Linked DNA regions of Homo sapiens: region 2 is linked to region 1. The links are contacts of gene promoters, found by promoter capture Hi-C in human tissues and cell types (Jung and others, 2019). All regions are on one chromosome and are shown on one strand. Each heading gives the region's core, a stretch centred on a gene start or on the middle of the fragment in contact. The rest is flanking DNA. Distances are from core to core; before and after follow the strand shown. Region 1 has its middle 21 kb from the start of POLD3. Region 2 holds the start of CHRDL2 (chordin like 2).

Evidence for each region. Contacts are between HindIII fragments. The study calls those that stand out against the background at their distance.
Region 2: the fragment with the promoter of CHRDL2 here is called in contact with a fragment that was not itself captured in region 1 in 2 of the 25 tissues and cell types used here (IMR-90 fibroblasts and heart right ventricle).

Annotation. Positions count from the first base shown.
Region 1 is chr11:74,569,615-74,573,897 of GRCh38, forward strand. No RefSeq gene overlaps it. Among named protein-coding and RNA genes, the nearest start is that of POLD3, 21 kb to the right of the region's middle. The HindIII fragment of the contact is 4,780 bases long and covers 582-4,283 here.
Region 2 is chr11:74,729,870-74,733,755 of GRCh38, forward strand. It overlaps CHRDL2 (chordin like 2), which reads right to left and starts at 1,557. Exons shown (of 11, transcript NM_001278473.3): 1 at 938-1,557. The coding sequence starts at 1,019. The HindIII fragment of the contact is 7,141 bases long and covers 1-3,886 here.

The DNA.
Region 1 (4,283 bases), core at 1,722-4,221:
TGGAGATTGGAGGCTAGGCAGGGAGAGCGGTTGGATTAGAGGGGACAAGCTCAAATGCCTACAACCTCCGTTTCATTTATTCAATTACATTTTATTCACTTATAATTTATCACCTCCTTTTTTTTTTGAGATGGGGTCTCACTCTATTGCCCAGGCCAGAGTGTAGTGGTGCTATCTTGGCTCACTGCAGCCTCAACCTCCTGGGCTCAAGCAACCCTTCTACCTCCTTCTCCTGTGTAGCTGGACCTATAGGCATGTGCCACCACTTCCAGCTAATTTTTGTAATTTTTTGTACAGACAGGGTCTTGCTATGTTGCCCAGGCTGGTCTCAAACTCCTGGCCTCAAGTGATCCACCCCCATCAGCCTCCCAAAGTGCTGGGATTACAGGCATGAGCCACCATGCCCAGAATTTTCTTACTTTTGTTAAAGACATGATCAATAAATATTTCACACATTAAAAAAAATGTTTAGGCCAGGTGCAGTTGTTCACGCCGATAATCTCAGCACTTTGGGAGGCCGAGGCAGGTGGATCACTTGAGCCCAGGAGTTGAAGACCAGCCTGGGCAACATAGGGAGACCCCTGCCTCTACAAAAAATATGAACCTTAGCTGGTATGGTGGCACGTGCCTGTAGTCCCAGCTACTCAGGAGGCTGAGGTGGGAAGATAGCGTGAACCCAAGAGATGGAGGTTGCAGTAAGCTGTGATTGTGTCACTGCACGCCAGCCTGGGTGGCAGAGTGAGACCCTGTCTCAAAAAAAAAAAAAAGTTTTAAGAAAAATAATAGTACAACCACCTTGATCAATGGCAAAAATAACTTGGCCTCAGTGTTGGGAGAACACAGGGAATGATAAGGACCAAGGCTCACCATGGTAGAGCACAAGATATTTGGATTTTTTAAAAGCCTGAAATATGATTTTACTAGGACATCCCTTATTCTTTAAATTTGGGCAATTAATTCAATTAAACTTTTTCATACAGAGCGTTTTCTAATTGTGTATTGAGGTCCTATCTTTATTGTTATTCTTCATGGAGGAAGGAGCGGCAATAACTCCTAATGGGAGATAGCAAAAGGAGAGGTGACTCTGCCATCTGCTGCTCACTGATGGTATGTACCTACAGGCCTTCAGTAGGATTTAGGTGCCACCCTTATAAAGGGTCAGCTCTGAAAGTCTTTGCTGGGGACATCTCCAATATCCTAATTTGATGGTTGGGGTGTCAGGCACATGGAGGCCTTATATCCCAATACCTGGAAACCATGAAGCCGGCTCCAAGGTAAAGCCCACAAGCTGAATCTGACCTCTGGTAGGCATCAGGCATGTGTTGCCACAGAGCTAAAAGTGTGGCTGGAGAAGGACGAGAGGAGAGGAAAGAGGATTGCGGTGGGAGTCGCCAAGAAAGCTGGAAGCCATTGCACAGCTCCAGGAACAGGGGCAAGGGCTGAGGTAAAAAAAAAAAAAAAAGAGAGAGAAATGAGTGGATTTGAGAAACAGTACAAGAAAATCCGACTTGATAAGACATTGGATTCAGAGAATGAAGGGCTGGAACTGCCAGTGCCTGCCAGTGAGTTGTACTTTGTGCTACCAACTAATCTTCGTAGAACTTCAGTTTGATTATTCATTACCTCCAGCCTATTTTGGCTTCCTACTGAAATCAGGACACAAGGAAATTTGTCACCAGGTAGACAATAAATGTCCCTCCCCACCCCCTGCCAGTCACCCCACTAGTCTTATTAGGAATCCTACACTTGGTAGGAATTAAGAAGTCTTGACTGTGAGTCCCAAGTTCAGTCATTTTCTGGCTGACTGACCTTGGGGAAAGTGACCAAACACCTGGGAGTTTAGTTTTCTCATCTTCAGTTTACTCATCTGAACAATGGAGCAATGGCAACAACAGCTCCCTTTAGGCTGAGCCAAGCTTCATACAAGCTAATGTCAGACATCTATCATCTTATTGAATTCTTGCAACCCCAGGAAATGGGCACTACCATTACCCCCATTATTCAAATGAGGACACTGAAGCTCTGAGAAATTGAGTGGCTTGCCCAAGGCCATATAGCTAGAAAGTGGGAGAAGCTGTCTTTCCAACTCAGACTGCTTAGCTCCAAAGCTTTACTGCTCTGGATCTCTGTCTCAGTGAGCTTTTGCTATAAAATGACCCACCCTGAAACACAGTGGCTTAAAACAACAATCATTTTGTTTAGTTCACAGTTCTAAGGTACAGTATATTTATACAGGTCACAGTTTTGATCTTGGCCAATTTAGCTGATCTATGCTGGATTCCCACATGCATGGGTCTGTGGATAGCTGGTAAGTTGGCTCAATCACATATTTGGTGACTGGCAGTTGGCTGGAGCACCCTGATGCTCCTCCATATAGCCTCTCATCTTCCAGCAGGCTAGCTTAGGCTCATTGACTTGGCGGGCTAAAGATTCCAAGTTTAACAAGAGAAGACAGGCCAGATGCAGTGGCTCACACCTGTAATCCCAGCACTTTGGGAGGCTGAGGTGGGAGGATCATGAGATCAGGAGTTCAAGACCAGCCTGGCCAATATGATGAAACCCCGTCTCTACTAAAAATACAAAAATTAGCTGGGTGTGGTGGTGCATGCCTGTAATCCCAGCTACTCAGGAGACTGAGACAGAAGAATCGCATGAACCCGGGAGGCAGAGGTTGCAGTGAGCTGAGATCACGCCACTGCACTCCAGCCTAGGTGACAAAGCGAGACTCCATCTCAAAAAAAAAAAAGAGAGAGCAGACAAGCCTCCGTGCTCAAGCATGTTTCAAGTCATCGCAAAGCCAAACCAGACTCAGAGTGCAAAAGCACTTTCAAAAGGTGTGGGTAGAGGGAAGGGGATAATCTGTGGTCATTTTTACAATCTGCCATAAATGCTATGCTATAATCCCTGTTTCACAGGGTTGATCACATGAGATAAAGAATGTGAATCAGCTTTGACGTGAATCAGCTTTGTGAACTTCTATAAAATATTGTCCAGAGGAGTGGCATTGTTTAATGATTAGTACTGTATGCCAATAGTACCTCGAACTCAACACATCTGGTAATTATCTCCATTTTCCAGATGAGGAAACTGAAGCCTAGAGAGCTTAGGGGGCTTGCACATGATCATACAGCCAGAATCTGAACAGAGATCTGTGTGTGCAGTGCTCTTCAGCAACTTGATTCTTTATTGCATTGTTCTATAATCCGTTTTCCTGAGCAGGTCTTGTTTTCCCAACTAAAATTCCTTAAGGACTTTTTTTTTTTTTTTTTTTTGAGATGGACTCTCACTCTGTTGCCTAGGCTGGAGTGCAGTGGCGCGATCTTGGCTCACTGCAACCTCCATCTCCCGGGTTCAAGCAATTTTTCTACCTCAGCCGCCCGAGTAGCTGGGACTATAGGCACGTGCCACCAACGCCTGGCTAATTTTTGTGTTTTTAGTAGAGACAGGGTTTTGCCATATTGGCCAGGCTAGTCTTAAACTCCTGACCTCATGATCCGCCTGCCTTGGCCTCCCAAAGTGCTGGGATTACAGGTGTGAGCCACTGCACCCGGCCCTTAAGGACGTATTATAGGTCTTTTATTTCTTTTGTGGCCACGGTGGTGGCTAGCATTATACTAAACACATGGTAGGCACTCACTAAAGACTTTTCAAATGACTGAATCACTCATTCATTTATTTATTCCCTTTTTAAGCAAACATTTATTGAACACCAATTATTACATAGGTCCTGGACACTGAGAATACAGAAATAAATAACACAATATTCCTTTTCTTAAGAAACTCGCCTAGTTAAAAAAAAAAAATTCAACCTGACACTGTAATCTAGCATGATAGAACCTCAAAGGGTTATGACAGCAAAGGAAAGGAGCCCTAAACTAGCCTGGCAGAGAAGATACCTGCCTTCTTTATGGCTGAGGACACTGAGGAGGATACTTCTGAAGAGAGCACAGCAGATGCAAAGACTTGTGGGAAATAACACGGTATGTACCTGGACTTATCAGCAGTCTGTGTTGCTGGAGCATAGGTAAGAAGCAGCTAGGGGTGAGAGGTGAAGTTGAGGTGGTAAGAAGCTCAAACTTGATCTCTTTTTTTGGGACAGGGTCTTGCTCTGTCACCTAGGCTGGAGTACAGTGGCGTGGTCACAGCTTACTGAAGCCTCAAATTCCTGGGTTTAAGTGAACCTCCCACCTCAGCCTCCCCTGTAGCTGGGACCACAGGCACACGCTACTATGCCTGACTCATTTCTTTATTTTTTGTAGAGATGGGGTATGACTATGTTGCCC
Region 2 (3,886 bases), core at 307-2,806, 160 kb after region 1:
GTGGGCGCAGTGAGGAAACTGAGGCTCAGATTGATGATGTAACCTGTTTGATGTTACACTGTATCTATGTGGAAAAGCATAATTGGGAACTGATTTTTTTTGGAAGCTATCAAGCACCAGTCTTGTGCTAGCTGCTTTACCTCTTTTCTCTAATTTAATCCTATCAACTCTCCTAGGATTTTTACTTCCGCTTTATAGATTAGGAAACCCAGGGTCAGAGAGGTGCACTCTGTGACGGCCTCCCAGCAGCTGGCATTCAGCGGGGCTGGGATGGTGAAGACGCTGGTCTATCTCACTGTGCCCTGCCGCCTCCCAGAGTCTCACACTGCAAATTCAGGGTTCCTTCTAGACAATGTGAGGCAGGGAATAAAGCATGGGATCTGGAACTAGAGTTCTGGCTTTGGATGGCTTACCCGCTCTGTAAGTTTTAGCAAGTTCCTCCTTGCTCAGCCTAAGTTTTCTCATCTGTAAAGTGCGAATGATAATACCCACCTCACTGGAGAGTTGCGAGGATCAAAAGAGAGAAAAGAATGGGAAGGTTATCCTAATTACCTCTCATTTCTGTCCAATGGCTCTTTCCAAAGGCAAAAAGCCTTTTCTTCTCCATCACACTCCTTACCTGTAGCCAGACATACCCGACTCCCTCCTAGGAACAGTAAGTCCTCCCCCAACCCAAAACACAGTGCCCTGCCCTCTCCCCCCGCTGCCCTTGGTGCCCCTCCTCAGGTCCCTGGCAGCAGCCCTCTCTCAGTTCTGAGTTGTGCCGAGTTCCTCCGGTCCCCCGGCCCATACTGGTCCTCACGGAGTCTCCACCCCTCCGGCACAGGTGCTGCCTGGACGGCTGTCAGAAGAGCTTGGGGTCCAGGTCCTGGCGCTGTCCCTCACATTCCAGGGGCCGCATCCCTCCTCTGCCCACCCAGCCTCCCGGTCTACTTACGGGCTCGAGCGTGGGAGTCCAGGGGGAACCAGAGCAGCGCGAGTCCCAGCAAGGAGGAGAGGACCCTCACCTCGGGAACCATCCTTTCCCCAGGGTCAGGCCGCTGGTCCGGGAGCGGAGTCGGGAGGAAGGGAGACGAAAAGGACACGGAGGCACAGGGGCCACAGATCAACCCACAGACCCCAGGAGGTCTGCTGCTAGAGCGGGGTCGGAGAAGGGCCAGGAAGCAGCGGTGGGCAGGAAAGGAGGGCAGGAAGGGAGGTCTAAGGTGGGAAGAAGAGAAAGGTGGAAAGAGAACGCGGGGAAAGGAGGGAGAGATGGAGAGACGAAGGAAGGTCCAGCAGAAGGGAGAGGCGATCAAAGAAAGGGGGAAGGTGAGAGGGAGAGGAGGAGAAAGCAGGGAGAGGACCGGCGTCTGCCGAGCGCGCAGCGCCGGGCGAGGCGCGCGGGACCAGCGGGTGTTGCGGGCGCGCGGGCTAGAGGCGGCCGGCGCCCCCTGCTCGGTGGGCTCGGGGTCGGGCCGCGGGGGCCTGGGGCCCGGCGGGGCGGCGGTCCCAGCAGCGGCGGCGGCGCGGCGGCCGCGGAGGGAGGCTGAGCGCGGGCCGGCTGTGCTCGCCAAGGGCTTCAGGCGCCGCGCTCGGGCGCATTTGTACTTTGCCGCGGGAAGCAGGCAGCCCGGCCTGGCGCTGGCCTAGCGCTGGCGCCTCCTCTGGGGCACCGCGGGCTCGGTGGATTGGCCACCCGAGAAACAGGCCCACTTTTTCCCCTCCTCTCTTGTGCGGGTCTCCGGGACGGACGCTCCAGGCGCGGCGCCGAGTGGAGGCGAGGGGGCTGCGGAGGGGGAAGGGGCCACGCGGGCCACGGGGTTTAACCCCTGACTCCCCGCGACGCCAAGAATGCAGGAGGGCAGAGTTGAGGGAGACCTCAGGTGGAACTTTCAGGTGGGGAAGGCTGAGCTGTCGGGGCTGCGGGTACCGGGAAGGCTCAGGGTAAGGCGCTCGGCGGTGCGTGCCCGGAACTCCGCAGATGGATGGAATCAGAACACTGGCGTTCTTAATTCAGTTTGTGGTCTACAGCACGCCACCGGAGAGTCTGTTTTCCCAGCTTTAAAATGGGCATTTTAAGATCTTAAAATATCTCTACTATCTTCCCACGAGTGTTGCTAAGATGAAATAAGGTAATGAACGTCGAAACACTCACCCCACAAAGAGAAGGGGTCCTAATTCCAGGTGCCTACAATACCAGTGGCCCCTGTCCCCACTCCGTCTGCCCATGCGCCATTCTCAGGAAAGTCAGCCCATAGGGATCCTGTGCCTTCCCCTGGAGGTCTTCCTCTGCTCCCCGCTCCCACTCCCGAATCAAGGCAAGATCTCTCCTTTGCCTTTGCAGGTGAGGCCTGCACTTCTCTGGGAGTGATGGTCACCTTCAGTCATCTTTAGGGAGAGCTGATTGTCAAAGAGTTTTCTTTCCCACCAGAAGGGGAGCTCCCTGAGGACAGGGCCCTGACACCCTCCAGCCCTCAAATGGTGCTCCATCTCTTGTGTTGAATGAACACATGCACTAATAGGACACTAAGAAGAGAATAGCCAGCTCTGGCCAGACCAGAAACACACAAGCTCTGAAATCAAAAGGGCAGAGTCACTGTCCTGGCTCCATCCGTAACTTGTTGGGCCACTTTGAGTAAATACATCTATCCTTGCTTTGGACCTCAACTTTCTGCCCAGCTTCTCTTGAAGAGCTAATGGAGACTCCAAAGAGTGCCAGAGGAGTATGAGGTGGGAAGGGATGTTGAGCCATATCCCACTCTGGTAGGGAATCATATTTCCGGGTTTAAACACTTGGCTGGCTGGCTGTAAAGGTATCTTTCTGGGCCAAGGCTGGGCTCCCCATTGCACTGTGCTTTCAGGGTATTACCCCCAAGATCTCCACCCTCCAAAAGAGAGCAGTAGGAGGAACCAGTGATCCCCAAACTGGCCCTTCCTAGGGCTCTCAGGATCAGGGACAAACATGATCTGTCCAGTGCCCTTCAGGCTTAATTTCTACTCTAATCTGGCCAGTCTCTTCCTTTCCCCTGAGTATTCTTTATTTTAACAGATAGTGCAAGCTTATGCATGTCACCATGCTTCCCTTTTTGCCTTTGCTTCCAGGGATCTCAGAGTTAAATCCTGTGCTGCTTAATTGCATAAACAATCTCATCCCAAGGGTTTGGGACAGTGATCTTTTCCTTTCTCTTTGTTTAAAATGTGCTGTGCACATATATTCATGTCTTAGATGTAAGAAGTGGATTAAGATGGGTTCCCCTACATCCTGCCCATCATACTTCAAAAAAGGCCTCCACCATCTCAGCCCTCCTGTCCATCCCTATTATCCCCAGAGTTGAGGCCAACTTCATTCCTTTTTTTTTTTTTTTTGAGATGGAGTTTTGCGCTTGTCGCCCAGGCTGGAGTGCAGTGGCGTGATCTGGGCTCACTGCAACCTCTGCCTCTGGGTTCAAGCGATTCTTCTGCCTCAGCCTCCCGAGTAGCTGGGATTACAGGCATGCACCACCTATAATTTTTGTATTTTTAGTAGAGATGGGGTTTCGCCATGTTGGCCAAGCTGGTCTTGAACTCCTGACCTCAGCTGATCCACTCACCTCAGCCTCCCAAAGTGCTGGGATTACAAGCATGAGCCACCGCACCCGGCCATCTTCATTCCTTACTTGAACTTTCCCAACAGCCTCTTACCAGGTCTCCTCCCCCTAATCTGGATCTCTCCTATCTATTTTCCTCACACCTGCCTTGAGAACTATGCTGATCATTTCTACTGACAAATCTGATCACATCACTTTCCCACATAAAACCTATTATTCACTTCCTATCATTTATAGGTTAAAATCTAAAATTTTCAGCACTGAATTGAACACCACGCATATTTTAGTTCCAATCTACCATTGCCACCTACCCTACA